2 separate regions of the Homo sapiens genome follow, and region 2 is linked to region 1. Evidence: promoter capture Hi-C in 16 types of primary human blood cells and fetal thymus (Javierre and others, 2016). All regions are on one chromosome and are shown on one strand. Each heading gives the region's core, a stretch centred on a gene start or on the middle of the fragment in contact. The rest is flanking DNA. Distances are from core to core; before and after follow the strand shown.

Evidence for each region. Contacts are between HindIII fragments. The CHiCAGO score rates a contact against its expected background, and 5 or more counts as called.
Region 2: a contact is called between a fragment that was not itself captured here and the fragment with the promoter of PDPN in region 1, in 2 of 17 cell types (total B cells and naive B cells). The highest score is 5.8, in total B cells.

What each region holds. Positions count from the first base shown.
Region 1 is chr1:13,582,009-13,585,706 of GRCh38, forward strand. PDPN (podoplanin) reads left to right here and starts at 1,824. Exons shown (of 6, transcript NM_006474.5): 1 at 1,824-2,092. The coding sequence starts at 2,026. RefSeq lists an enhancer at 1,727-2,265. The HindIII fragment of the contact is 6,524 bases long and covers 1-3,587 here.
Region 2 is chr1:13,863,055-13,866,661 of GRCh38, forward strand. No RefSeq gene overlaps it. Among named protein-coding and RNA genes, the nearest start is that of PRDM2, 160 kb to the left of the region's middle. The HindIII fragment of the contact is 401 bases long and covers 1,933-2,333 here.

The DNA.
Region 1 (3,698 bases), core at 574-3,073:
GCTGAATGCAATTCCTTATTACCTCCCACTCCTCCATCCTGATCAAAAGGTCATGTGACCAACCTTCTAGATTCTAGACACATCCGGGGGTGTGGGATAGAAGGCAGGTGTCCTTGAATCATGACCTAGCCTCAGCATCCCTCTAAATTAGTTGCATGTAACCCAATCTCCCCCACCTAGGCTTCACTGTGTTTCAATCTTTTTGAATAAAGCGGGCCATCTTTCTTTCTGTGTGTGACCTTGGAGTTACACATAAGCAGAATAGATGTGCATCTATTCTCCATCTAACAGGCTCAACAGACAATGCACTATTCCTCCTGTCAACAGACATTATTGACACTAGAGTCATAAAATGCATCTCCAAGATGGGGAAGTCAGTTCAAGAAAGAGTATCTGTATCACGAGTTTTCTCTTTACATTTCCAACTCCTTGGCTCTAGGGGTGTTGCCGCTACCCCTCATCTTCTAGGTTCAGGTGCTCAGCTCCTGTTTGTAGCCCCAGGACAAGACGTTACCTGGGAGATCTTTAGAAATGCAGAATCTCTCCCTATCCCACAACAGAATTGCACCTGCATAACCAGTGCCCCAGGTAGATCTGGCTGAGAAGCTATGATGAAGGGCAAGGTTTGCCAAATGTTCATGGGGACAAGTTCTCCAGCGACACTGGTTTAAAATAGGAATTCCGAAAAGGTCTGATTAATGAGTTTGGGGTGGAACCCAGGAAACTGGGCATTTATTTAAAACAATCTCTCCTGTGATTCTTAGAAAGTAAATTTATAATGGGGAGGGGTCAAAGATAAGCATCTGAAAACAATTTTCACGCAATGTGGAGCTTTGAGACAGCGTTAGTCTTCAGGTTCTTTTGTTGAATGGAATTTGTGGCATCTGGGAGTGGAGCAGAGACCACTTCCCAAACTCCTGTTCTTATTTTTTTAAATTCCAGCAATTCAGAAGGAATTAAAGTAAAAGACGTAAGTTCTCTGGTTGCTGATATCTGGTACCTGAGATCAAGGCAAGATCGCTTAAACCAGTAAAGTGAGGATTATGGGAGCAAACTCAGGAATAAAGAGGGTGAACCAGGCCTGGAAGGGGACACAGGTTTGGCGACCAGACGGGTCACCGCTTGGCCCGGCCTAATCCAACTGCGCACGTCGGTGGGCCACAGCATCGCAGCGCTGGATCCCCGGGTCGGCAGAGGCGGATGGAGTTCAGCCTCTTTTTCAAAACTGCCAAAGCCACCCGGTCTGCCAAACTCCCCCACCAGCCAGCTCTGGGGCAGCCCCCCGGAGCCCGCCCGCTCCGGTCCCCGGGACAAGGGCGCAATTGACCAGCGCGGGCCGCCTCTGGCCCACCCAGATGACGGCCAACTTTTTTTGTTTTTAAGCCATCAAATTCAATATTTACAGGAAAAACCCCATGCTTGGTTCTAAAACTACTGGCCACTCAAGAAACAGTTTACTTCTCACTTCTGCCCATAACAAGAAAAACATAGACTTGTGCCTTACTCTTAAAAAAATAATAATAATAAATATAGGTTTTTTAAAATTTATATATAATTTTTAAAACCCCGTTTGTTGCATGTGGTCCCTTTCCCTCCTGTTGTTGAGCAGAATAAAAGCCCATTTTGCCAGGGCCCGCAGTCCTGGCGGCCCCCGCAGCTGCGGCCCTGTAACTTTAAACCTGGCCTGAGATCATCGTTTTGGCGCCGGCCAAACAGAGCCCGAGGGCGGGCCTAGCGCGCCCGGACGGAGACCACCTTGCGGCCGACCCCGCTCCCCCGCCTCCTCGGGAGAGATAAATGCTGACTCCGCTCGGAAAGTTCTCAACTGCAAAGTTTGCTGTCCGGCTGCCTAGGGTCTGGGAAGCTCGGGCACCCTCCCTCTCCGGGGCTCCTGCTCCCACCCCTCCGGCCCCCCCACCGTCGCGCTCCTCCAGGCTGGGCCTGTGGCCGCGGTGCTTTTTAATTTTCCCCCAGCTCAGAATCTTGCTGCTCGGCCCCCAGGAGAGCAACAACTCAACGGGAACGATGTGGAAGGTGTCAGCTCTGCTCTTCGTTTTGGGAAGCGCGTCGCTCTGGGTCCTGGCAGAAGGAGGTAAGACCCAGCGCAAGTGGCTTCCTGCCGTCGCTGATGGGGACGAGCGAGCAGAGACTTGCTGGAATGCCCGGGCCTGGTATTCGAGGTTGTCCAGGGGAGCGCGGGGGAGCTGAGGGTGTGTGCGTGTCAGGCGGCTGAGCGCCGGAGGAGGAGAGGCAGCGGCTTAGTCGGTGCCAGGTCCCAAAGACGCAGCTGCGCGGGTGTGCCGGGAGGAGCCCCGGAATCCACAGGCTGCGAGGTGGGCAGCACAGGGGGCCTCCCTCCGAGTCGGCAGCACCAGAGAGATCGGGTGGAAGGTTCACAGTAGGCAGCCCCGCTTGCTGGCAGCAGTGGCTGGGGTTTCCTTCCCATAGAGCGGTGTGTTGGAGGAATACGCACGCCTCGGGAGAAGCTGGCCTCGTAGAATCAGGAGGGACGTTCAGGAGGGCTTGGGCCAAGGGGAGGGTTCCCCGCCCTGCGGTGGCCCTGGTCCCCCTTGGGACTACCTAGTCTGGCGCCCTGCCTGTTGGACACACTCAGCACCCCGTCACTGGACTGGAAGAGGCCTCCTTTATCCTCTTTAGAGAGGATAGTGTGTGTGGAAAGGATCCAAGTGGAGGCTTCCGAGGAGTGTGAGTGCATGAGGATTGTTACGCGTTACGAACATTGAGGTTTAAGTGGGTTTGAGCCACGTGTTCATCTTGGGCAACAACATCAGTGGCTGAATGTCTGTTGGTGACTCCTTAGGCTTTAAATATTTTGTATCCCATGTTGGGGTGGGGGCGTCCACAGCTTCCATTACCCTTTGTCCTCTCCTGGAGCCTTACCTCTTCCCGCTGGGTTGCTGTGTTGGTGGTCTCCATTGACATCTGTCAACATTTTGTTTTCTTTTCTTGGGTTTTTATTTTTATATTTCCTCAATAGAACATATGTTCTGCAGGACGCAGCTACATCCAGCCATGATTCCCCACGGCCAAAACAATGCCTGGCACATAGTAGTTGCTCACTAAATGTTGGTTGAAGGAATTGTAACCTAACTCGTGATCTTTGGGGCTGGAGGTTGCTGAGTTATGCTGTGAAAAGTAAACATTTTCCAAAAATTGAGGATCAAGGTAGGCCTAGGCCCTGAGGAATACTTCTTGGAGAGGGAGCGGTTTGCAGGAGGGGTGCGCCTAACCTGGCCTCCTACAATGGTCCACACAGACAAAAATACCCAATCTCAGGGAAATGACAGAGTTCTGCTCTATGCTGTGCTGTCTGCTTCAAAGGGACTGAGCAACTCTTTTTATAGGGGCCGTGGGTTATTCGTAGCAGTCCTATCTTTGGAACTTCTCTTTCCACTGGAATATATACAGTTCTGTATTTTCAGTTACATTTCCTTTTTGGCGAGACAATGTGCAAATGACACCGTTTTGTGCTCACCAGGGCAAAGCAAGGGAGCGCCCTCACTTCAGCATCTCAGCCCTGCTAAAGAAAAAGCTGCTGGGTAACATCCTTTGTTTTTGCCCAGGGAAGCTTTAGCTGTGATTCCCTTCAGCCGGCTCCTGAATGTCAAAGGTACTCCTAAAAGATGGCGTTAAAACCGAAAAACCATCGTTGGTGCTGGAAACTCCACTACTAAAGA
Region 2 (3,607 bases), core at 883-3,382, 280 kb after region 1:
CTTTATCCTTACAATGATCCAGACCTGAGCCTGTAGGTGAAGACCTCTTGAGAAAGAAGGCACAATAGAAGGGCAAGGCATTTGGGAATGATGGCTTTGTGCAGTACCTGTTATGTGATAGCAAGTCATTTATAATCTATATGAAGAAGGTGTCACTTCACATTAGAAAAGGGTAAAAGAAGGATAAGAAATGACTCTGATCTGGGAGAAATAAAAAATTAGACAAGTTTGGATTAGGGAATTCTACTTCTTGTAGCTTTTCCATTTTCCAGCCTAGCCCCCTGGGAACCTGTTTCTGGCATAGGATATAATCAATGTCTGGAGTCCTCTCTGCATGTGAGGTCAGTCTTTATGTGTTGCAGCTATTGAAATACGTTTTCAGCCCAGAGTTACCTGGAGGATATAGCACCTGTCTTTGCTTGGATACTATAGGGAGAATAATTGCTTCATAGTCTTTCAAAGGATGAACTTTCATTATGTGTAATAGACTCTGGCAATGGTGCTAGCACAGCACTCATATTCTCTTCCTAACAATTTCTTGATATTTTCAGGGATTACTTCTTCCCCTGTGTGGGTGCTTTAGCTAGGACAAGTCAGGTCAGTTCTTCCCATCCTGTTTAGTTGCTGAGAGGGCATTTCCTTCCTCATGCCATCCTAATACAGCCTGGGAGTAGGCAGGAGACCCAAACTCTGTCAGTCAGATGCCCTTGTCTGAGACTTTGAATTCTGAGAGTGATGCAACACCAGAAAAAATGGTTGGCAGTCATGCATCTCAGCTGCTGTTCACTGATCAGATACTTATGCTTTATAAGTATAGTTGGCTTCTGCAGTCTCTGCTTCCAAGTCCCTAGAGATATCTTAGATGTTCTTGTACCAATTAGGGTTCTGGCTGCAAGCTACAGTACTGACTGTGGCTTTCTCAAGTAAGAGCAAGGAATGTATTGGAAGGATATGGAAACTAGAAATTGGTGGGAGGCTGAAGGACCAGACTTAGAACCTGGGCATGAACCAAACATGCTCTAGAGTGTTAAGAAGTAGGAAGCATGAAAATCAGATTTTAATAGAAACAGTCCACCAGAACAAATTTGCAGCTGCTGACACATGCTGCTATGTCATTAAACCACCCCCATAGCTACTTTGGGATTATTCTCTTTTTTTTTTTTTTTTGAGACGGAGTCTTGCTCTGTTGCCCAGGCTGGAGTGCAGTGATGTGATCTCAGCTCACTGCAAGCTCTGCCTCCTGGGTTCATGCCATTCTCTTGCCTCAGCCTCCCAAGTAGCTGGGACTACAAGCACCCACCACCATGACGGGCTAATTTTTTGTATTTTTAGTAGAGATGGGGTGGGATTATTCTTAATTGTCCTTTTGTCTCTACCACTCTCTGCAGATTCAAAGTGTCAAGTGGGATGGAGGGTGTGCCAAGACTGGGTCACGTACCCGGCCACTGATTTTGGATTCCACGCAGCCAGAAGTGGGCAGGCCCACCAAACTGCTGATTTCCACTCCAGGTTTCCCTAACTTCATGTGGGTTCTGCAAATTCCCAGTTTCCTTCCAATAACTTCTCTTTGTTCACTAGCCAGAAGCCTGTGTCTTATATATAAAGATCCCTCTACAATCAGGTAGGTATCATTCTTCCCACTGAACTCTGTTTATTGGTGCATCTTAGAACTTTGGAAATCTTGAATTCTAGACTGCGTATTTGTTCTTGACCCATCAGCTTGATTATAATGTTTAGGGGAGAAAACAATTTGTATGTCTTTTGCTTATAGCAGTTTATCGAGGACTGGCCACGAAGAGCATTTTCTACTTTCTTGGCCCTGGAGCTGGCAGTTCGCATTGAAGTGTCAGCAGTGAGCAAAGTCACCAGCACTTGGAGATGGGCCTGTAAAGTGAGTCAGTGTGGCCAATCCATTCCCACTGGGCACATTCAAGCTTGAGTACTTTTCTCTGAGGAGCTCATTACTGTGGGGGTAGGGAGGCAGTTTCAGGCAGTTTCATGTAAACATGAACGAGAAACCACTTTGCCCGCTACTAGAATTTGGTTAAGGAGATTTAACTAGTTCTGGGGAACCAGAACTCCCTGGGAAGCTGTGTGTAAAATGTGCTTGTGTGTAGGCACGCATGCTAACTTTTTGGAGGAGAGGGTCCCTGGTTTTTAGGAACCAATAGGGGTCTACAATATCCAAAAATACCCATTGAATTGTGTTGTGAATTCTGAGCTTCTTAAAAATGAAGAAGTGGTGTTAGCCACATAACTCTGAATTTACTAAAAACTATTGAATTGTATGTTTAAATGGGTAACTTGCACATATGTGAATGATAGCTCAAGAAAGCTTTTAAAAACTAACCCTTGGGCTGGGTGCGGTGGCTCATGCCTGTAATCCCAGCACTTTGGGAGGCCAAGGCCGGCGGATCACAAGGTCAAGAGTTAGAGAGCAACCTGGCCAACATGGTGAAACCCCGTCTCTATTAAAAATACAAAAATTAGCTGGGCGTGGTGGTGCATGCCTATAGTCCCAGCTACTCAGGAGGCTGAGGCAGGAGAATCACCTGAACCTGGGAGGTGGAGGTTTCAGTGAGCCAAGATTGCACCACTGCACTCCAGCCTGGCAACAGAGCGAGACTCTGTCTCAAAAAAAATAAATAAATAGAAATAAAAAGTAAAAAGTAACCCTTTAGTACTAACCTATTTTTGAGCTGGGGATTGCCTGAACGATGGGCTCATCTTGGGTCCTCAGTGAATTTGGGTATTATTGAGCTTCTTGGGATGTCATTGCCTGATACCCAAATACAGTCATTTGGTGGTGCTTCTAAGTGAGTTATTGGCTTTCAGTCCTGGACCGAGGACCATATCTAATCCCATGATGAGTAGAAGAAAAAGCTTATTTCATTTGCTGCCCTAAGAATGATTGTAGTTCTGGTAATGGGTGAAGATATGAGTGCACTGAAAGTTTAGCCAAAATCCTTCACTTTAATGAGCCTCAGTTCCCTCCAGCTGGTACTTGTCACCCTGTTAAGTGATCAGGACTCAAGATATTTTGTATTATTTGGGGGGAACTGCTATGTAGTGATATTGGGGACTATTGCACTCAAACTGAAACAAAAATCAGGAAAAATTAACGTTGGACCCTCCTGGGATCCTACAGAACACATCAGGCAATTAGGGGGTCAACATAGCGAGCATTAAGTAAAAATAAGTCGAATCTATCTTGTGTGTAGCCATAAAAATGCAAGCGTGCCCATATCCTGTTCATGGCTAATTCTTGGGTGGCTTCCATCACAGCTGCACAGAGTCTGAGCATGTGACCATGGCCTGGGTGGCCCTCTCACCTTGGCCCATTGCTCTGTTCCACCTGCTCCATGCCACATGCCCCTCCTAGCCCACCATGCTCTTTTTTCGTCTTTGAAGCTTTGTTTATGCTCCTTAGGATCACTCCGTTCCTCCTAGCCAGCTCCTCTTCTTTTCCACTCTGTAAAAGTTTGCCTGCTATTGTCTCTTCCAAGAGTCCTCCATGGCCCTGCAGAGTGCTTAGGTATCCTACTCCCAGCTTCTTACCATCACTTCCTTTACCACCCTGTGCCATTTGTAATGCCACTTCCTTACA